Linked DNA regions of Homo sapiens: regions 1, 2, 3 and 4 are each linked to region 5. The links are contacts of gene promoters, found by promoter capture Hi-C in blood cells and fetal thymus (Javierre and others, 2016). All regions are on one chromosome and are shown on one strand. The core of a region is centred on a gene start or on the middle of the fragment in contact, and the rest is flanking DNA. Distances in the headings are between cores, read along the strand shown. Region 1 has its middle 11 kb from the start of PHC3. Region 2 overlaps SKIL (SKI like proto-oncogene). Region 3 overlaps PHC3 (polyhomeotic homolog 3). Region 4 overlaps PRKCI (protein kinase C iota). Region 5 holds the start of SAMD7 (sterile alpha motif domain containing 7).

What was found. The method cuts DNA at HindIII sites, captures the fragments that hold promoters and counts their contacts. A CHiCAGO score of 5 or more calls a contact.
Region 1: a fragment that was not itself captured here is called in contact with the fragment with the promoter of SAMD7 in region 5 in 1 of 17 cell types (total B cells); the score reaches 5.0 in total B cells.
Region 2: a fragment that was not itself captured here is called in contact with the fragment with the promoter of SAMD7 in region 5 in 1 of 17 cell types (total B cells); the score reaches 6.3 in total B cells.
Region 3: a contact is called between a fragment that was not itself captured here and the fragment with the promoter of SAMD7 in region 5, in 2 of 17 cell types (total B cells and naive B cells). The highest score is 6.6, in total B cells.
Region 4: a fragment that was not itself captured here is called in contact with the fragment with the promoter of SAMD7 in region 5 in 1 of 17 cell types (total B cells); the score reaches 5.0 in total B cells.

Annotation. Positions count from the first base shown.
Region 1 is chr3:170,190,638-170,194,786 of GRCh38, reverse strand. No RefSeq gene overlaps it. Among named protein-coding and RNA genes, the nearest start is that of PHC3, 11 kb to the right of the region's middle. The HindIII fragment of the contact is 3,214 bases long and covers 350-3,563 here.
Region 2 is chr3:170,383,277-170,387,743 of GRCh38, reverse strand. It overlaps SKIL (SKI like proto-oncogene), which reads right to left. Exons shown (of 7, transcript NM_005414.5): 4 at 2,979-3,211. Among named protein-coding and RNA genes, the nearest start is that of SKIL, 28 kb to the right of the region's middle. RefSeq lists a silencer at 3,027-3,227. The HindIII fragment of the contact is 1,974 bases long and covers 285-2,258 here.
Region 3 is chr3:170,170,298-170,174,863 of GRCh38, reverse strand. It overlaps PHC3 (polyhomeotic homolog 3), which reads left to right. Exons shown (of 15, transcript NM_024947.4): 3 at 2,152-2,307; 4 at 3,414-3,491. Among named protein-coding and RNA genes, the nearest start is that of PHC3, 9.2 kb to the left of the region's middle. The HindIII fragment of the contact is 1,241 bases long and covers 2,032-3,272 here.
Region 4 is chr3:170,222,520-170,227,206 of GRCh38, reverse strand. PRKCI (protein kinase C iota) reads right to left here. Exons shown (of 18, transcript NM_002740.6): 1 at 4,437-4,687. The coding sequence starts at 4,537. Among named protein-coding and RNA genes, the nearest start is that of PRKCI, 2.4 kb to the right of the region's middle. RefSeq lists a silencer at 4,423-4,687. The HindIII fragment of the contact is 759 bases long and covers 2,005-2,763 here.
Region 5 is chr3:169,909,686-169,914,415 of GRCh38, reverse strand. SAMD7 (sterile alpha motif domain containing 7) reads right to left here and starts at 2,844. Exons shown (of 9, transcript NM_001304366.2): 1 at 2,595-2,844. The HindIII fragment of the contact is 322 bases long and covers 2,677-2,998 here.

The DNA.
Region 1 (4,149 bases), core at 707-3,206, 280 kb before region 5:
TATTTTGTTTCTGCGGCATCGGTTGTCATTTCTGTTTCATTTCCAATTGAGTTTATTTGAATCTTCTCTCTTCTTTTCTTGATTAATCTAGCTAATGGTTTATAAATTTTGTTTATCTTTTCAAAGAACCAGATTTTTGTTTCATTGATGTTTTGTGTTGTTTATTTTTGTTTCAATTTCTGCTCTGATCTGTGTTATTTCTTTTCTTCTGCTAGCTTTTGGTTTAATTTGTTCTTGTTTCTCCAGCTCCTTGAGGTGTAACATTAGGTTGTGATCTTTCAGACTTTTTGTGATCTTTCAATTTGTGATCTTTCAGACTTTTTGATGTAGGCATTTAGTGCTATAAGCTTTCCTCTTAGCACTGCTTTTGCTTAACCCAGAGGGCTTGATAACTTAGTATCACTGTTATCATTAACCTTAGAGAATTTTTAAAATTCAATTTTGATTTTATTGTTACCCCAAAAATCATTCAGGAGCAGATTGTTTAATTTCCATGTATTTGTGTGGTTCTGAGGGTTCCTTTTGTAGTTGATTTCTAGTTTTATTCCACTGTGGTCTGAGAAGATACTTGATAAAATTTCAGTTTTTTAAAAATTTACTGAGACTTATTTTGTGGCCTATCATATGATCTGTCTTGGAAAATGTTCCACGTGCTGAAGAGAAGAATGTTTATCCTGCAGTTCTCTGGTAGAATGTTCTGTAAATATCCGTTAGGTCCATTTGTTCTAGAGTGTAGTTTTAAATCCATTTTTTTCTTTGCCGACTTTCTGTCTTGATGATCTGTCTAATGCTGCGAGTGGAGTGTTGAAGTGCCCCACTATCATTGTGTTGCTGTCTATCTCATTTCTTAGGTCCAGTAGTAAATGTTTTATGAATCTTAGAGCTCCAGTATTGGTACATATGAATTTAGGATTGTAATATCTTCTTGTTGGATTGATCCTTTTATCATTATATAATTATCTTCTTTGTCCTTTTTTTTTTTTTTTTTACTGTTGTTGCTATTTACTTATTTATTTATTGAGACAGGGTCTGGCTTTATTGCTCAGGCAGGAGTAGAGTGGGATGATCACAGCTCACTGCAGCCTGAACCTACGACACACAAGTGATTGTCCCACTTCAGCCTCCTCATTAGCTGGGATTGCAGGCACACACCACCACACCAGGCTAATTTTTAAATTTTTTCATAGAGACAGGGTCTTGCTGTGTTGCCTAGGCTGGTCTTGAACTCCTGGGTTCAAGGGATCCTCCTGCCTCAGCCTCCCAAAGGGCTGAGATTGCAGGTGTGAACTGCCACACCTGGCTGTTGTTGCTTTAAAGTCTATCTTATCTGATAGAAGAATAGCTACTCCTGCTTGCTTTGGGTTTCCATTTGCATGGAATATCTTTATCCACTCCTTTACCTTGAGTTTATCTGAATCTTTATGTGTTATATAAGTCCCTTGAAGACAACAGATATTTGGTTTGCAATTTTTAGACCCATTCTGCCAATCTGTATCTTTTAAGTGAAGCATTTAGGCTGTTTACATTCAACATTAATATTGAGATTTGAGGCTGGGTATGGTGGTGGCTCACACCTATAATGCTAGCACTTTGGGAAGCTGAGGTGGAAGAATTACTTGAGCCCAGGAATTCCAGAGCAGCCTGGGCAACATGGCGAAACCCCATCTCTACAAAAAATACACACACACACACACACACACACACACACACACACAAACTTAACTGGGTGTGATGGTGCACACCTATAGTCCCAGCTACTCAGGAGGCTGAGGTGGGAAGCCCACTTGAGCCCAGGAGGTGGAGGTTACAGTGAGCCAAGATTGTACCACTGCACTCCAGCCCAGGTGACAGAGCAAGACCCTGTCCCCTCCCTGCAAAAAACAAAAAAACCCAAAAAGGCCATGCCTGCAATCCCAGCACTTTGGGAGGCTGAGGCGGGCAGATCACGAGGTCAAGAGATGGAGACCATCCTGGCCAACATGGGGAAACCCCGTCTCCACTAAAAATACAAAAATTAGCTGAGCATGGTGGCAGGCACCTGTAATCCAAGCTACTCGGGAGGCTGAGGCAGAAAATTGCTTGAACCAGGGAGTCAGAGGTTGCGGTAAGCCGAGATTGTGCCAATGTACTCTAGCCTGGCGCCAGAGTGAGACTCCATCTCAAAAAAAAAAAGAGAGATGTGAGGTACTGTTCCAGTCATCATGTTATTTGTTACCTAGATACTTTGTTTTATTCACTGTGTTATTGTTTTATATGCCCCATGAGTTTTATGCCATCAAGAGGTTCTACTCTAGTGCATATCAGCCTTTTGTTTCAGGATTTAGAACAGCTTTTAGCATTTCTTGTTGGGCTGGTCTGGTAGTGACAAGTTCCCTAAGCATTTGTTTGTCTGAAAATGATTTTATTTCTCCTTTATTTATGAAACTTAGTTTTGCTACATACAAAATCGTTGGCTAGGTTGGGCGTGGTGGCTCATGCCTGTAATCCTAGCACTTTGGGAGGCCAAGATGGGAGATGACTTGAGCTCAGGAGTTCAAGAGCAGCCTGGGCAGCATGGTGAAGCCCCATCTGTACAAAAAATACAAAAATTAGCCATGTGTGGTGGGATGCACTGAAGTGGGAGGGTCACCTGAGCCCAGGGAGGTTGAGGTTGCAGTGAGCCATGATCGTGCCATTCCACTCCAGCCTGGGCAAGAGAGTGAGACCCTGCCTTAAAAAAAAATTCTTAATGGGCCGGGCTTGGTGGCCCATGCCTGTAATCCCAGCACTTTGGGAGGCCGAGGTGGGTGGATCACAAGGTCAGGAGATCGAGAACATCCTGGCTAATACGGTGAAACCCCGTCTCTACTAAAAATACAAATATTAGCTGGGTGTGGTGGCGGGTGCCTGTAGTCCCAGTTACTGGGGAGGCTGAGGCAGGAGAATGGCGTGAACCCAGGAGGTGGAGCTTGCAGTGAGCCGAGATGGTGCCACTGCACTCCAGCCTGGGTGACAAAGCAAGACTCCCTCTCAAAAAAAAATTCTTGCTGGGCGTGGTGGCTCACGCCTGTAATCCCAACACTTTGGGAGGCTGAGGTGGGTGGATCATGAGGTCAGGAGTTCGAGACCAGTCTGGTCAACATAGTGAAATCCCGCCTCTACTAAAAATACAAAATTAGCAGGGCATGGTGGTGCATGCCTGTAATCCCAGCTACTTTTGAGGCTGAGGCAAGATAATCACATGAACCCAGGAGGCAGAGGTTGCAGTGAGCCGAGATCGTGCCACTGTACTCCAGCCTGGGCGACAGAGCGAGACTCTGTCTAAAATAATAATAATAATAATAATAATTCTTGGCTGACTGTTACTCAGTTTAAGGAGGCTGAAGATAGGATCCCAATCCCTTCTGGCTTGTAAGGTTTCTGCTGAGGCCCTTGAATAATTCTACAATTACAACAATAAGAGGTCTTTAGAATGCTTATTCTGGGCTGGGTGTAGGGGCTCATGTTTGTAATGCCAGCACTTTTGGAGGCCAAAAAACCGAGTTAACAAAAAAAAAGATTTGACATGACACTGATATAAAGCTTTATATTTTTAATATTTATTTACTTATTTTTGAGATAGTAGGGTCTTGCTCTTTCGTCCGGGCTTGAGTGCAATGGCACGATCATGGCTCCCTACAACCTTGAATTTCTGGGTTTGAATGATCCTCCCACCTCAGCCTTCTGAGTAGCTGGGACTACTGTGAGCCACCTCACCTGGCCAAAAATTTTTATTTTACTTATTTATTTTTGAGACAGAATCTCGCACTGTCATCCGGCTGGAGTGCAATGGCATGATCTTGGCTCACTGCAACCTTTGCCTCCCGGGTTCACGCGATTCTCCTGCCTCAGCCTCCTGAGTAGCTGGGATTACAGGCGCACACCACCACACCCGGCTAATTTTTTGTATTTTTAGTAGAGATGGGGTTTCACTCTGTTGGCCAGACTGGTCTCGAACTCCTGATCTCGTGATCCACCCGCCTCGACCTGCCAAAGTGCTGGGATTACAGGCATGAGCCACTGTGCCTGGCCAAAATTTTTATTTTAATACATTAGAAGTATACAAGCAAAAATCTATTCTCAGTTACAGAAGCCCAATATTTTAAAATATAGCATATGCAAATTAAAGAA
Region 2 (4,467 bases), core at 22-2,521, 470 kb before region 5:
CACCGTTTTAGCCGGGATGGTCTCGATCTCCTGACCTCGTGATCCGCCCGCCTCGGCCTCCCAAAGTGCTGGGATTACAGGCGTGAGCCACCGCGCCCGGCCTATAGCAGCATTATTCTTAATTGCCAAAAAGTAGACCCAATGCAAATGTCCGACTGACGAAGGAATAAAAAAAATGTGGTATATTCACATAATGGAATCTTATCAGGCCATAAAAAGAAGTACTGGTACATGCAACAACATGGACTGTGAAAACATTATCTTTCATGAAAGAAGCATAAGCTTCTTGACCAGACATGAAAAGCCACATATTGTACAATTCCTTTTATATGAAATGTCCAGAATAAGCAAATCCATAAAGATAGAAAATAGATTAGTGGTTGCCAGAGGCTTCGAGAAAGGGAGAATCAGGGAGTGACTCCTAATGGATTATAGGGTTAATTTTTGGAGTGATGAAAACATTATGGGCCGAGGCGGGTGGATCACCTAAGGTCAGGAGTTCAAGATCAGCCTGACTAACATGGCGAAAACCCTGTCTCTTACTAATAATACAAAAAAATTAGCCAGGCGTGGTGACACACGCCTGTAATCCCAGCTACTCAGGAGGCTGAGGCAGGAGAATCGCTTGAACCCGGGAGGCAGAGCTTGCAGTGAGCCGAAATCACCCCACTGCACTCTAGCCTGGGCGACAAGAGTGAAACTCCATCTTAAAAAAAAAGAAAGAAAAGAAAACATTATGGAACTAAATTAGCTGTGATGGTTGCACAACTTTGTGAATGTATTAAAAACCACTGAATTGTAGGCTTTAAAAGGGTAAATTTTATGGTATATAAATTATCTCAATAATTTTTTAGAAGTCATTAGAATTAATTTAAGAAATAAAATACAATGTAAATATGGCATAATAGTCATTACTAATTTTTGTTTACCATATTTAAATCTGAAGAAAACTGAGTTTTAAAAATCTCAAAATTGGCCAGGCATGGTGGCTCACATCTGTAATCCCAATGCTTTAGGAGGCCAAGGCAGGAGGATCACTTGAGGCTAAGAGCTTAATGCCAGCCTGGGCAATACAGTGAGACCCTGTCTCTACAAAAAAAATGAAAAAATGAGGCAGGCGCAGTGGCACATGCCTGTAGTCCTAGCTACTAGGGAGGCTGAGGTGCAAGGACTATGAGCCCAGCAATTTGAAGCTGCGGTGAGCTATGAATGCATCACTGTACTCCACCAGCCTAGAGCAACAGAGTGAGACTCTGTCTCTAAAAAAGAAAAACGAAACAAAAAACCCTCAAAATAAATGTATAGAAAACCCCTGGCCGGGCGCGATGGCTCACGCCTGTAATCCCAGCACTTTGGGAGGCCGAGGCAGGCGGATCACCTGAGGTCAGGAGTTCGAGACCAGACTGACCAACATGGAAAAACCCCGTGTCTACTAAAAATACAAAATTAGCCGGGCGTGGTGGTGCATGCCTATAATCCCAGCTGCTCAGGAGGCTGAGGCAGGAGAATCACTTGAACCTGGGAGGCGGAGATTGCAGTGAGCCGAGATCACACCGTTGCACTCTAGCCTGGGCAACAAATACGAAACTCTGTCTCCAAACAAACAAACAAACAAACAAAAAAACCAGAAAACCCCCACCCAAGAATCAGCCAGGCGTGGTGGCTCACGCCTGGAATCCCAGCACTTTGGTTGGGAGGCCGAGGCAGGCGGATCACCTGAGGTCAGGAGTTCAAGACCAGCCTGACCAACATGGAGAAAACCCGTCTCTACTAAAAATACAAAATTAGCGGGGTGTGGTGGTGCATGCCTGTAATCTCAGCTACTCAGGAGGCTGAGGCAGGAGAATCTGGGAGGTGGAGGTTGCGGTGAGCTGAGATCTCACCATTTTACTCCAGCCTGGGCAACAAGAGTGAAACTCCTCAAAAAAAAAAAAGAAAAAAAAGAAAGAAAGAAAGAAAAGAAAACCCCCAAGAATCTCAATTCTCTATAAAAACTTAAATAAATAGAGGACCCTCCAACTGTTCCAATGCAGCTAAAGTAACTGTCACACTGCCTAATCACTAAGCAAAGCTGTGCTGCTATATGGATGGTAACACAGGCAATATCTGCAGACATGTCTCATTTAATCCACAGTATTTTAAAAGGCACGGTAAGTAACCAGCTATTTTTCTTTTAAATGACCAGTCAATATTCCACATTTATGCTATATGCCTGGCCCCCAGAGCTTTCAATCCTTGCTTTATTCCATAACTAAGCTTCCTTGAGTTCTATACCTAACTACTCTTACTTACATAATACTTCTTATTATTAAATGGTGTCTCAGTTCATGGCAAATCAGAAAGAAAAATAAAGGTTGGGTGCGGTGGCTCACAACTGTAATCCCAACACTTTGAGAGGCCAAGGCAGGAGGATCACTTGAGCCCAGGAGTTCGAGACCAGCTTGAGCAACATACCAAGACCATCTCTACAAAAAAAAAAAAAAAAATTTTTTTTTTTAATTAGCCAGGCACAGTGGTGTGCGCCTCTGGTCCCAGCTACTAGGGAGGGTGAGGTGGGAGGATCACTTGAGCCCAAAGGTTGAGGCTGCAGTGACCGCAATCTCACCACTGCACTTCAGCCTAGGCGATAAAGACTCTGTCACAAAAAAAGAAAAAAAAAGGAGGAAAGAAAAACAAGGATCTCCTGAAGACTGACAGCAAATAAAAGGTAGGAAAGGAAAAAAATTCGGACAAAAATAACTTGCAGTCTGAGGCCAGGTAGCCTGTATCTATCTCAGTCTCCTGAGCTATCACCACGCTAGAAAAGTATAGCAACTGAGATTAAAATAAATCACCCAGAGTTTTGAAGGGTAGCATTTTTAAAGGTAAAAGCTCCAATTATCTGAAAATTTAGCTCAAACAAAAAGCCTGTTTGAAAATGCTCAATAAATGTGTTCATTAGATATTTAATTTTAGAAAGATAATCTCTGAATACTTACCTAAACGGCTACATAATTCTCTACTTGTTTTTAAATCCATTTTCTCCTGTTCCTCAAGTGAGACATCTGGATAAGACACTGTTTTTTGAAGTTTACCACTACTGTGAGCCTTCTCTGACTGTCTTGATATGGACTTACTTGCCTCTGTCTTTGTGAGCTCTTTAGACTGGGATACAGCAGAAGTAAGTGACACATTTGGGGCAACCACTTTATCACACATGTATAAGTAGTAGCTGAAAACAAGTAAAAGCAAAACAAGACATATATTACATATTACAATTAAGTAAAAATCAAATATGTAACATGCATTTCTGTGGTTAAACTTTTTTTTTTCTAACCAAAACAGACAATATTACAACTCAGAAAATAAAGGTCACAGTAAAGAATTCTTAGGAAAAAAATCAACACTTTAGGCATTACAAACAAAATTATAAGGGATTTTTTGTTAGTTTGCAAGTAACCCAGGCTGGAGCGTAGTGGTATGATCATGGCTCACTGTAACCTCTAACTCCTGGGTTCAAGCAATCTTCCTGCCTCAGCATCCCAGGTAGCTGGGACCACACATACCCATTTTTTTTTAGAGATAGGGTCTTGCTATGCTGCCAAGTTGGTCTTGAACTCCTGGGCTCAAGTGATACCCTCCCACCTCCAACTCCCAAAGCACTAGGATTACAGGCATAAGCAACCATAACCAGCTTGCAAGTAATTTCGTGTTTTTTTTTTTTTTTGGCAAGTAATTTCTAAGCACTAAAAAGATACACAGAAGGAAAATCACAGGCTCTTCTCCTTCCCTCAAAACCACCTGAGAATTAAAAGCATTAAGGACTTTATACAGCTGTGTAACAACTCTGAGCAGGTAAGTTTTACTCCAGAAAAAGAATAATCTATAACTACTTTGGAGGACTTTATCTTGCCCACCACCCTTCCAAAGCAGGGAATCTTTGCTTTGGTGAGGCTGCTTCAGTGGCAGACTGCAAGGCTATGTCCTGACTCACAGGAGGCTCAGTGAGGAGCTCCCAGGGCTCTTCTTATATACCTCAGAGAGAGAGCTCTGAATGTCGCCCAGCTACTGGGCAGTTCTTGTATCAAACCCCACTGAGCAATCTTCTTGAAATACTTCACTACTTCCTACTCATTTGATAAAATGGCAACAATAAATTATGCAAAACTAAGATAAAAGAGATTACCAATTTTGACCAAAACTCACATAAAATTGCCCAGTAGACTCATGTGAGAAGCTCATGGGACAAACAAATTTCAGCTAGATATTTAAGTACCATATTTGTAACTATATTCTGAGTAACACTTAGCAAAAAGATGTAACCATTTAAGACTTGACACTCTATCCCCTGAACTCCAGACAATCTCCTCTTACATTTCATTTTCTTTGTACTAAGACATCTATATTGTTCCCCTTTGTTAATAACATCCATTTTTGAGCCAAAATCTCAGTTTTCTGACAGGACAAGAAAATTGACAGGTTTAATAG
Region 3 (4,566 bases), core at 1,403-3,902, 260 kb before region 5:
AAAAAAGGTATATTGTTATAATTCTGAATCACTTAATGCTGGCCTATAGTCCCCTGCAGGTAGAGGTCAAAAGCTCCCATTGATTTTGTGACAGAAATTTGTATCAGGCATAGTAGTCTATAGTTGGAGAGGTGAGATATTAACACATGAAAATAAACAATAACACACAGAAATATGCTGTCTTGAAGTTTAGATAAAAGGATTCATGGCATTATGGCTCAAGATGTCCTGAGAGACCCTCAAGCTATAGGATTATGGCACTATTACTCCCTTAGCTCTTTGAAAACTCTGGTTTGATGCTGCGATTAGGGTTCTGTGCTGTTTCAGAGTCACAGTGAGCACAATGTGACTTTCGGATTTGGTTGTATAGGATTGACTTATTCTGACTTAACCTTTTGGAGAAATGTAAGAATTTTCTCTGATTTTAGTAGAGTACTTGACTTTTCTATATTTATTTATGAAGTTTCAGGCTCAGATTTTACATTTTACTAACAAATATTCACAGTAATTAACACTTTTTAAGGAATTAAGTAAGAATAGTTTTATTCAATGTTGAAGCAAAACAAGGTATTTGACATTTAAAAATTTTTTAAATTATTGAGTAATTTTCTAAAGAAGAAATAGCTTTATAATTTTATTTTTTATTTTTATTTTATTATTATTATTTTTTTGAGATGGGGTCTTGCTCTGTCGTCTAGGCTGGAGTGCAGTGGCATGATCTCTGGTCACTGCAGCCTCCACCTCCTGGGTTCAAGCAGTTCTCCCACCTGAGCCTCCTGAGTATCTGGGATTACAGGTGCATGCCACCATGCCTGGCCAAGTTTTGTATTTTTAGTAGAGACAGGGTTTCACTATGTTGGCCAGGCTAGTCTTGAACTCCTGACCTCAGGTGACCTGCCTGCCTTGGCCTCCCAAAGTGGTGGGATCACAGGCATGAGCCAACCTGCCCAGCTGCTTTGTAATTTTATATGATTATTAATAATACCTGCTCATTGTAAGATTTTCAGACATCTATAGAAGAGTATGAAGTAGAAGCTAAAAATCACCTCTAATCTAGCTACCCATCAGTGGTCTTTGAAAGTTTTCCTGTGGATTCTTTCAAATATTTTAATATAAAAATGGTATCTTACTCTATATACTATTTTGTAACCCACTGATTTTCTTTTTGTTAGTAAATATAGATCGGTATCAGCAATGTACACTATAGTGGCCAGTAGTTACTTGTGGCTGTTTACATTAAAATTAAAATTAATTAAAATTCAATTTAAAATTAACTCAATTCTTTAGTTGCACTAACCACATTTTAAGTGCTCAGTAGGCACATGTGACTAGTTGTTACTGTATAGGACAGCACTGATCTACATTACTATTTGTTATGGTTGCATGGTAAAGGTATTTCTCTCCACACCCAAGCCCTGAATTCTACGAAGTTTTATCCAAAAAGGTTATGCCAACTTGAATTTTTACTAGCAATATGGGAGTATTGGTTTCCCCAGGTAGTAGTAGTATTCTTTTAAATCTTTATCCATCTGAAAGTTGGAAAACAGTATCTTGTTTTAATTTGTAAGTTTTTGACTACTGGTGAGATTGAAAATCTTTTGAAATGCTTAGTTGGCCTGGCCTGTCTTTTGCGAATTGTCCACTGGGTTTTGTTTTGTTTTTTTTTTTTTGAGATGGGAGTCTTGCTGTGTCGCCCAGGCTGGAGTGCAGTGGCATGATCTTGGCTCAACTGCAGCCTTCACCTCACAGGTTCAAGCGATTCTCCTGCCTCAGCCTCCCGAGTAGCTGGGGCTACAGGCATGTGCCACCATGCCTGGCTAATTTTTTGTGTTTTTAGTAGAGACGGGGTTTCACCATGTTAGCCAGGATGGTCTTGATCTCCTGACCTTGTGATCCGCCCACCTCGGCCTCCCAAAGTGCTGGAATTAACAGGCGTGAGCCACCGTGCCCGGCCCACTGGGTAGTTTTAATGTGTACAAGTTAGTGATTTCTAGTGATATGTAACTAGGAAAGAAATAATGTTAATAAGCTTGATGATATTATGTATTAAAGCAGTGAAATTTTAAACTGCCACTTTTTTATACTTTGATTTTCTGATTAAGATAAAGGTTGAGATTATGGTTTGACATTGGTTCAATTGACTTATCACAGGTAATTCAACAGGCATTGCATCGGCCCCCCAGCTCAGCTGCTCAGTACCTTCAGCAAATGTATGCAGCCCAACAACAGCACTTGATGCTGCATACTGCAGCTCTTCAGCAGCAGCATTTAAGCAGCTCCCAGCTTCAGAGCCTTGCTGCTGTTCAGGTAAGACTAAAATAAGAGTTTATGAGATCAAAGTTTCTGTTATCTGTAGGTAGTTACTGAAAATAAATAGATTGGGTATTATTTCAGAGTTCTCAGATGTCCTGTGGTTATTTTTCCCGGAGGAAATATATTAATAGGTTGCCGAATAGAAGTTAATTGAGAAAAAGGGGATATGTTTTTTTATGTTACTCTGTTTCTAGCTTTTGTCTCAGTGCTTTTTATCCAGATTGAAGAAATGCTATGCTAGTTTATGTGTATAAAGTTCTAGGTACAACAGTGAGTACTTAGGCTTACATAAATTGTATTTTTACTAAAAATAAGATTAAAAAAATTATATAAGTAATTATACTCATTAAAAAATCAAACAATATTAAGTTGTTTATAAGAGATAAAGTAAAGCTGTTCCTTTTCCCTGTCTATCACTGTTTCCCGTTCTTCAAAGGTGGCCACAGTAACAATCTAATACATATTTCTCCAGAAATTTTTTATACAAAGATAGGTATATCCATTTTTCTAAAATCCAATCATATTATTCCTACTGATAACAGGATTTCATTATTAAATGCTTGTTTTTAAAAAAGATTTTTGTTACTATTGTACTATTTAAATAAAGCTGTGTAAGATTTAATCTTAAATCCCCTCACCAGAGGAGGATCTCAATTGACTGAACCTGAAAAAGGTTTATTTCTGTTACCAACAGATTCTCAGCTGTTGCTTCTTAGTAGTGTAATTTTTAAATAACATGTTTGTGATACAAGTTAGGAAACTGAAACCCACTCACTGGCTCTTGCTGTAGCTCTAATTTCTTTTTCATAACTCTGGAGTAGTGATTCCACTTTAAAGATGACAGAGACCCATAAAGTGAAACTGACAATAAAGTAGCTAATAAAATAAGATTAGTCTTTGGATCCCCTGTTTTCACCATTCAGCTTTTCCTTATTTAAAAAATCTGTTTAACCGAAGCTTAAGCCATGTTGACTATAAAATTAGTTGTTTCATACATAGGCCTTTTGACATTTATTGTTGTGGTTTTGTGTTATCATGGTACCAGAAAGTTCTTAACTTCAGGTTTTTACCGACATATTCTAAAAGTCTTACTATTTTAGGCAAGTTTGTCCAGTGGAAGACCATCTACATCTCCCACAGGAAGTGTCACACAGCAGTCAAGTATGTCCCAAACGTCTGTAAGTTCCCTAAATTTTTTTTTCCTGGATTTAAAATTTTAAAGAATTGTTTTCCAAAAGTAAACTGTTGTTATTTATGAAGCTGTTATTATAATTTGTTGCATGCTGTTTAAAGTAACAATTGCCCAGAAATAGAAATGATAAAATTCAAGAATTCAGAACTAATGTTAAACTTATGAAAATCTGAGTCTTAAAAAAATCTTTTTGTATTATTTCTTGTATATCCATTTGCACTGATCATGTTCAGATCTTATGTGGTTTCAGCTTTCTGTGTGTATTGAAAGCCTAAAATATACAATGCAGGGATATTGGCCATGAATTTACTGTGATATACAATAGTATGTCATGTCCTTGGTAGACATCTAAGCATTTCTAACTTTGTGCAATTCACATTTTAGAAATTATACTTTCAGCTTACATGAGTTATTTGGGTTCAATTTGCAAGTATCCATTCAAGATAGGGTAATTTATTTTGAGAAAGGAGTAAAAGAAAGCTGATTCGCTATATTGCACATATATATTGGGAAATTGTGCCAAGTTTCCCAGGTAAAATAAATTTATGGGCATGGTAATACTTGTTTAGCTTTTAATTTTGGTATAATTTTAAACTGCAATAATAATAAAAAAATTTCTGTATCTACTCTACTCAGATTAATCAATTATTGCATATTGCCCCATTACTTTATCATTCATTCTTTTCCACTACATGTATACATATTTTTTTCTGAGTCATTTGTAAGTTGAGATATGTTCCTTTATTCCTAAATACTTTGATGTGTATTTCCTAAGAACAAGGCTATTGTTTTTTGAAGCCACAGAAAAATTACTAAATTCAGGAAATATAACATTGATACAGTGCAGTTCATTTTCACATTTCATCATTTGTCTCAGGTTTCCCAACCTCATCACTATGGACATTATGAGCCAGATAATTCTTTGTTGTCAGGGGCTATCGTGTAATTTATAGGATGTTTAGCAGCATCCCTGGCTACTAGATGCCGGCAGCTTGTGGTCTTTCTCCTTCCTCTAGTGTGACAACTATAGGTGTTTCCTGGTGGGGGGCAAACTGCCTGTA
Region 4 (4,687 bases), core at 1,135-3,634, 310 kb before region 5:
TTAGGCTCATTTCAATCATAAAAAAAACAGACACTAAAGTTGTAAAAGGAGGGCTGCAGTTGCATTAGAAAGCCATCATGAACTAAGGACCTGTGGGGAGAATTTTTCTGTGCAGAGTTGCTCCTTTCTCCTTTGCTTCCTCAGTTTCTGCTTCTTCACATCTTTCATTTGCACATTGTCAGTTCTGGCCTCGCCAGACTCTCCCTCCAACTCCAGCTTCAGTTCCCAGTGCTGACCAATTTTATCTCCATATTTTCTCATTCAAATTTCTGAGGGTTTTTTGTGTTTGGTTTGGGTTTTTTGGCACCAGGCTAGCATGCTCTATTTTTTTCTCTCTTTGGCCAAGCTATGGATCAGCTGCCCTAGGATTAGGTGCCATGGCTGAAGCTCTAAGACCAATTAGCTAACATCCCCCCAACCCTCAAGATACCACTTGTATTTCCTCAGAACCATTACTAAAGTATATTGCTAAAATAATCTTGCATTTCTTTCAAAAACAAGTCTTGCCAAGACTTGTTCACAGTAAGAAAAATCCTACATACTTCTTCACTGAAGCAGCTATTCCAAATATGCAAAGAGTTAATCTTTTATTTCTAGATGTGCACAGAAGGAATCCTCTGTATTGTTATTACTACTTGACAGCAGCGGTTTAAAAAGAACTTTCACAAGCTTTCTGCAAAAATTTCCATACATATATAATGTAAAGAAATGAGCAGTCCAGATGTTGCCTTGTTAAAGTCTATCCCATAATAGCAAGTAATTTTATATAAGGATAAGCACATACATTGACAGTTTATCACTAATTAATGAAACCTGTTTCTCTTCCTCCAAACTACTAGCACTAGGTAATAACTGAAGGCCCCTCACTGAAAAGCTTCCTTGCTAGGAAAAGACGGGTGCAGGCCATGAGAAAGGCATCTAAGTAAGATGTGGTGTCCAATAAAATTGAATTTTCAGTGCTATTAATCTCTTGCTTAAAAACTAGATGTAAATTGGCTGGGCAAGATGGCTCATTCCTGTAATCCCAACACTTTGGGAGACCGAGGTGGGTGGATCACTTGAGGTCAGAAGTTGGGAGACCAACCTGGCCAACATGGTGAAAACCCGTCTCTACTAAAATACAAAAATTAGCTGGGCGTGGTGGTGGGCGCCTGTAGTCCCACCTACTCGGGAGGCAGCCGCAGGAGAATCCCTTGAACCTGGGAGGCGGAGGTTGCAATGAGCCGAGATCACGCCACTGCACTCCAGCCCAGGTGACAGAGCGAGACTCCATCTCCAAAAAAATAAATAAATAAAATAAAATAAAATAAAAATTAGAAAAAAATTAAATGTTATTAGATCTAGAGAGATTACACGTTTTCACTGAGATCAAGCTTAACAGAATAATAACACTATACACATCTTTGAAAAGAGAGGGCAATTTTTTCACTAAAAAAAATGCTGGCTATTAAATGAGTCAACATTCACTGGAAAGAAATATTGTTAGAAAAGGGTAGTGGAGCCAGGTACAGTGGCTCACACCTGTAATCCCAGCACTTTGAGAGGCTGAGGCAGGAGGATCACTTGAGCCCAGGAGTTTGGGATTAGCCTGGGCAACACGGTGAGACCTTGTCTCTATTTAAAAAAAAAAAAAAGAAAAGAAAAGTGTAGAGGGATAGAGGAAATGCTATGTAATAATGGCCCTTCAGAAGATTGGAGAGAAAAGAAAACTTTTTCAAATGCAGAATGTTCTCACATTTCTTGGTATAAAGGAAGGATTTTCTATTTTAAAATCAGGTAGGTGTTCTAGTTAGCCAACCTGTTTATTAACTATCCTTGTCCGTGACTCATTTTAGCTTCATCTATATTAATGAGCAGCTGACTATGTAATACCACAATCATCAGTTTAGACTATACAAACACATAATCTTAACATCTAATTTCAGAGGACAGGAATTTGGTACAATTTAGAGTGCTGATATTGTCTTTAAATGAGGCTTGAAATGAAGGTACCATTAGAAAGCTTTCATTGAGCAAAGACCAGTATACAATGGGCAAGAGGTTATTTGCGCCGCAGCAAAATTTCACAGATTTTAAAAGACAATGTTACCTTGAATGTCTTGGAAAAATTGCAGTCAAACACTAAAGAAGCTGTATGTCCTTATTCTCTTCTTTTTAATAACTGGAGCAATAAGCCAAGATAATTTGCTATCTAAATTCATGAAGTACAGCAAGACTTTGATTTCTTCTCAAAGGAGTTTACAATGATTTTCATTTACTAACTGGGCCTATTTACATGTGTCAAACTAATACAAATGGGAAAATAGAAGCACTAATTTCTTACCTTTCATAGACTCATTGGAGAAGATGATCTCAATTAATAAGAATTTATTGAAAGCCTTAGGGCCAGGCGCAGTGGCTCATGCCTGTAATCCCAGCAATTTGGGAAGCCAAGACGAGCGCATCATTTGAGGCCAGGAGTTCAAGACATGCCTGGCCAATATGGTGAAACCCCGTCTCTACTAAAAATACAAAAATTAGCCGGGTGTGGTGGCACATGCCTGTAATCCCAGCTACTCAGAAGGCTGAGGCAGGCGAATTGCTTGAACCCGGGAGGCGGAGAATGCAGTGAGCCGAGATTGTGCCACTGCACTCCAGCATGGGTAACAGAGTAAGACCCTGTCTCAAAAACAAACAAACAAAAATAAAATAAAAGAATAAAGTGAAACATCTCATTCATCAAATTACAGGTAAGGGTTTAAAAAAAAAAAAGCAAAGGAAGCTTTTTTCTCACCTTGCAAAGTTCATGGCTGACCATCCTCAAGTCAAAACAGCTCTTGTGACAACTACAAACTTTAAAAAATATCCACACGTTTCTTGGTACTGATTTAAAATAAAAACCTCCTTAATCAGTTTTACCTGCTTAAACACAAAGTTATCATACTGTCCAATATAACTCCAATAAACTACTCCTGCATACAGTCAAGCTAATAATAAACAGAGGCCAGAGGCTTCATGGCAGCAAATTTAAAAGTCCTTACATCAAGGACAAAAAACCAAACACCGCATGTTCTCACTCACAGATGGGAATTGAACAATGAGAACACATGGACACAGGAAGGGGAACATCACACCCTGGGGACTGTTGTGGGGTGGGGGGAGGGGGGAGGGATACCATTAGGAGATATACCTAATGTAAATGACGAGTTAATGGGTGCAGCACACCAGTATGGCACATGTATACACATGTAACTAACCTGCACATTGTGCACATGTACCCTAAAACTTAAAGTATAATAATAAAAAAAAAAGTCCTTACATCAAATCAATACAACATTTAGGGGCTCAGATTTTCTTTGAAATCAAAACAAGAGAGGTAGTTTGAGAGTTTGCTATCTTCACTGATCCTCTCAGGAATGTAAAAGTATGCATTAAAATTTCAACCTAGCACTGCTTGAGTTTTTTAAAGCAATTTACTTCTACCTGGACAAGCAGTAAGGCAAGCCAAAGTAGCTGGGTTTTCTGTGACTTCTCAGTCTCCAACCTTTATGGTCACACTAACATTTCACGTTTCTAATGCTCCTAAACATAATTATCTCAAAAAAAAATTCAAACCACAACTGAATTTAAAGGAAGGGGGGCACTTTGCGTCACTGATAGAAAATGATTTAACACAATGAACTTAGAACTGGGTTTTTTCTTGTAACCATAGTAAGGGAGTGAAGATCAGAGAATTTAAAACTGTAACTAGGCTAGTCTCCTCACCTTGCAGTATCTCACCCTATCGGGTAGTCGTTGAAACAACACTGAGAAAGAAAGGCTCACAAAATTTTGATTTACACACATGCAACTTAATCTTGACGACACGTAAGTACCCACTGCACGTCCCTGAAAACGCATCGACTTGATTCTTAAATACAACCCCTATGTCTAATATACTGGCAGTGCAGATACACTACGTGAACACAACGGGGATGGAGGTATATCTCAGAGAACCAGAGGCGTTAGGCCTGCTGGTAATCAAAACGGACAGCTAACTGAAGAAGTCCCGTTTTCTATCCCCACAGCAAACTGAGTTAACTAAGGCATCACTTGGAATCCTCAACTCGCAACCCCAAATACACCCAGACTTAAGGATGCAAGGCCCCTACAAAGCTCTCAGGAGGCGAGTCTCTCGTCCACACCAGGTGCACCTACTCTAACCCTAGCTTCCTTCTCGGACCCTACTCTGGCCCCTCGGCTCCCCGCACCGCCATACCTGGGGGCGCCCCCAGTACTGCATCCCCTTGCTTCGCCCCCACCCCTATCACTTCGTCACTCACCCTGAGTCACCGGAGCCGCCCGCCCGCCCAGCCCAATCCGCCCACAACACCTCCAGCCCCTCACCCTCCCCTCCTCCAGGCCGAGTGGAGCCGGCCTGTCCCCTCCCGCCCACCGCCCTGTCCCAGGACACTCACCCGCGGTAGTAGGCTTTCACCCGGACCTGGTGGGAATGGTCCCCGCTGCCGCCGCCTGCGACCGTGTGGGACATGGTGCTGCTGTCCCTCTGGGTCGGCATCTCCTCACTCCCCCGCCTCAACGCTGGAGGCCGGGGGTGCGGGGGGGCGCTTCGGGCGCCGTGGGGGACTCCGCCGCCTGCGCTTGCCGGAGAACCGCGGCCGTCCGCCCACCTACCTGCCCACCTCGCCCGCAGCGCCGACCCAAGGGT
Region 5 (4,730 bases), core at 1,595-4,094:
CCTTGCACTTATGAACTAGTACTTATTTACTTATCACTATCATATCGACTGATGCCCAAATTTTCCTTAAAGAAAAGGATTGCCTAGTTTCTTTTGTGCCTGTTTTCATGCACATACCTCAAATTACATAGTTTTAACTTTTATTTTTCAGAGAAGTTTTCAGTACACAGAAAAATGGAGTGGACACTACAGAGAGTTTTCATATCCTCCCCCAACACACACATGCACAGCTTCCTCACTATCAACATCCTGCATCAGAGTGTACATTTGCTACAATCAGTTAAGCTACACTGACACATCATTGCCACCCAAAATTCATAGTTTACATGTGGATTCACTCTTGGTGTTGGACATTCTATGATTCTGACAAATGTAGAATGGCATTTATCCACCATTACAGTATCATACAGAATAGTTGCACTGCCCTATTTGCTTCAAAATTACATTTTGAAGCAAATAAAATCAGAATACTTTTAAGGCAACGTTCTAAGGTTGATCTGATCTTTCCCTTCATCAGCCAGGTAGATACTTGAAACTCCAAATTTGTGTTGCCTTAAAATCATTGTTTTGAGGGTACTGTGTCATATGATCAAGCACGAGTCTTTAAATGTGAACTTTCATATTTTCAGGGCACCCCTTTCTATTTTAGACACATGTAGACAAATTGTAAACTAAGGTCACTTTGCAGTAGCAGATGAAATGCTCAAGTAAAAGTGCAGACTGGAATATAAATTTTCAGTGCAGAGCGTGTCTGGTAATCCCAAAGTGAGGGAGTGCAGTGGTGCTTAGGTCTGCATTCAGCCTGGATTTCTCTGACCCAGAGCTCTAATCCTGGATGCCCAGCACATTAGGAGGATGAGGACTCCTTAATCTCTGTCTTCAGACTCTTACCCTCAACAAACCCCTCCAGGCAGCACATAGATGATTTACCTAGTGCTAATTCTGTCTCAACTGATTAGGGCAGTAGTAGTAAGACATGAACTTCATGAACTAAAGCCCTTGCCAAATCAGCAGATATTCACGGAATGATTTCCCAGTGCCCAGGAGCCGGGTGCCAATTTTATTATATTTGTCTGTTATTGGCTATACTGTGATCTTTCATTAAAATCAGTGCAATTTGAGTTTGGAAAACCCTATATTTGACTAATCGTATGTAGAATATTTATGGTATGTATGATGCATGTTTTCTGATTACATACATTAAAATGAATTAATTTTTAAGTAACTGCTGTATCTGGTAAGTTTTTGTATGTGAAAAGTAGATCAGTAGAATTAAATGTTTCCACAGTTCTGAGATAAATAAATGTAAGATAAATAGATGTAAATTCTTAAATTAAAATGAGAGCAATTTTTACAATTCAGGCCTGGCTTCTTGCGAGTTTTCTTGGCCTTCTCTTAGGCAGTACCCCAACAACTCCAAAGTAATTCCTCCTACTTATGTTTTGCAGAGGCCTTTGTAGTCCATCTCCTCCAACTCTCTCTGAGCACAACCCAAATAGGCCTTCTCCTGGGTCCCTCCATATCTTGCTCCCCTTCCCATCTCTGCCAAGGACGGAGGAGAACTTTAGAAAGACAGTTCATACCGAAGCACTTGGCAGTGCTGCTAAAATGTATTTCACTTTTCCTAAAGGCATAAGCTTTAGGACTTTTCTAACTGCATTTCACCATAGCACATACCCTGGAAAGCATTGAAGACAGTGGGTTACGTGCTGGCTGCTGTCACTTCTTATTTCTTTTTACTCTGGAAGCTCATTTTCATTAGACCTATCCATGTCTTCTTGAAATGTCAGGTTCTAGGCACAATTACAAGTATTGTAAAGAAAAAGGTAAACCTTTGACATCATTAAAGAAGTCAAAATTATGTAATTTCTACTGGACTCAATATAATTTATGTGCAACTACAGTTTGTATAAATTATGTTCACTTTCTTCAAAAGATTGTGAAGCAAAGTCCATTATATATAAATCTGTAGAGACTAAAGTGAAATTCTAGCAGTACTCATATAATGGAACTGAATAGTAGGTGTTTTAGTTAGATAGTCTTAAAGAATGAATTAAGGAATATCAATATAGATTTTATTTCATGATTATCATTGATTGTTCCTCAATGTTTTTCTGAAATTTTCTACTCTGACATTTCATGGTTCATACATCATGACAATTTTTGGAATATAGATATCTATAGTAATGGGGGGCCATTAAAATAATAATATATAGTAAATAAACAGCAGTAATACATAGAGGTAGGTACTTCATCTGTTTGAAGATAATAAAACTACAGTAAATTTACATACAACTTTGAACTGACTTTATCTTAAATAAACTTCATTTTACTTTCACTTAAAAAACTCCAAAAACTAAGACCAGGCAGTGTTTATTTGGTAGGAGTGGTATATCATCTTTACTCGTTAGTAACTTCAGTCAAGTAGGAATTTATTAGCTCACATACTGTTAGTAATAGCCAGTAAAGTCTACACATAAACCTAAGCATTTCCTTTAAGATAAAGATGTCCTTTTATTTTATATGTGAAACATTTTACTCAGAGTAACTGGCCTCAATTTTGGGCTAATCAATGTGTAGAGTTACATACTTACATCCTCTATGAAGACTTCTTGTCTTTGATATTGCAGATGGAAGAACCATACAAAGACTTTCTGGCCTTCAACTGCAGAAGCTTCTCTGGCTGCGGGTTGAAAGGTACATCTGACAATTCTTTCAAAAATGGTCTTAATTCAGTTTAACCTTGCTTTAAATACAAATTCAACTAAGTTGATTAGTCCTATTTCATGACAGAAACTTTGCCCTCTGATATCCTCTACAGATAGGCTAAAAGATGTTAAGCCCAAGGAAAGTGCCCTGCAAGGTGCATAAACCTGTCTCAGAGCTTAGCCTTTAGTGTAATCCTTCCTTAGCCTTTAAGATGCTTTGTGGGCATTCACTTAATACCACTGTTCAACTTGACACAAAAGAAATATACTATGCAAATAAGTAATAAGCTTTTCTTTGATGGAACTATATAGCCTATTCCATATTTCCAACAGGTTTCAAGTGGAAACATTTCTTTTGCGAGTAGGAAAAAACCTAAGTTATTTTCCACAGAGCTGAAACATTTGATGAAAGATGGCAGTCTATTTTAAAAAGAAGCTTCTATAATGGACAACTGTACTTTAATTCTCACAGGCAGTGAGAAAACCCTTTATCATCTGTGTGAGAGCTGTGATCTATATAAGAGGGAAAACACGGAATTTTGAAAATGTGACCTGTTATATTTGCTAGAGAAACATTTATAGCTTGAAAAAGAACATCCATATTTTTTGATTCCTAGTAATTTACTAGTAGGAAGTACAAAATAAGAATTGAATATAAGAAATTTAAGTTGTGTTTCAAGTAATGCTTTAGGCTTCCAGTTTGAAGGTAACCTGCTCCTTTGTTGACACACATTTTTATCATTGGCTGTTGAACTCATTATAAGAAATAGCATGTGGAACTGACTGTATTTATTCCAGGGTTATTGTTCATAAAGCAGTGGTCAACAGCAGGGACTTAGATGACCAACAGACTCAATAAGCCTCAGCACCACCACTCATTAGCTGTATGGCCTGGCCAAGTTACTGAACTTCTCTGAGCCTTAGTTTCCTCATCTCAGAAGAGCCCTTCTTGGGAAAGGGAAGGCAACAAGGTAGACAAAATGCTTGAATAGTTCTCACTAAACATTAGCCATTATGTTAGGTAACTATATTGCACAGAGTCCTCTGTTGAGGATCCATGGGAGGAATTTTTCTCAGCTTGTAGTACTAGGGACAATTGTTTTGTTGTTGTTATTGTTGTTGTTGTTGTTCTGAAAAATAAGGCCAAAATAAAACCTCAGGAATCACGTAACTAGTGTGTTGCATTCTTTGTGTTGGTTAGTAGGAAGTTCAGGACCTGCCTTTAGGCATGCATTTTATTATATTTTTATTTATTTATTTTTGAGACAAGTTCTTGCTCTGCCACCCAGGCTAGAGTGCAGTGGCACAATCATGGCTCACTGTAGCCTCTATGTCCCCAGACTCAAGCAATCCTCCCACCGTAGCCTCCAAGTAGCTGGGACCACTGGTGCACGACCGCATGCCTGGCTAATTTTTTTTCTGTATTTTTTTGTAGAGACAGGCTTTCGCCATGTTGCCTAGGCTGGTCTTGAACTCCTGGACTCTAGCAATCCACCCACCTCGGCCTCCCAATGTACTGGGATTATAGGCGTGAGCCACCATGCCCAGCCTAGACATGCATTTTAAAACCAGAAATGATCTATGGCTTCATCTTATTTTTCCTAACATTATTTTCCCTTTGCCCTAATTTTTACTAAACTGTCTTTCTTGTGTTGTATATGCATTTTGAAGTGTCTCATAAATTATTAGCATTTATAATATTTATGCATACAGTTTTTGTTTTTTTTTGTTGTTGTTGTTTGTTTGTTTTTTTGAGACAGAGTCTCACTCTGTCACCCAGGCTGGAGTGCTGTGGCGTGATCTCAGCTCACTGCAAGCTCCACCTCCCGGGTTCACGCCATTCTCCTGCCTCAGCCTCCTGAGTAGCTGGGACTACAGGCGCCCGCCACCATGCCCAGCTAATTTTTTTTTTTTTGTATTTTTAGTAGAGACGGGGTTTCACCGTGTTAGCCAGAATGGTCTCGATCTCCTAACCTTGTGATCTGCCCACCTCAGCCTCCCAAAGTGCTGGGATTACAGGTG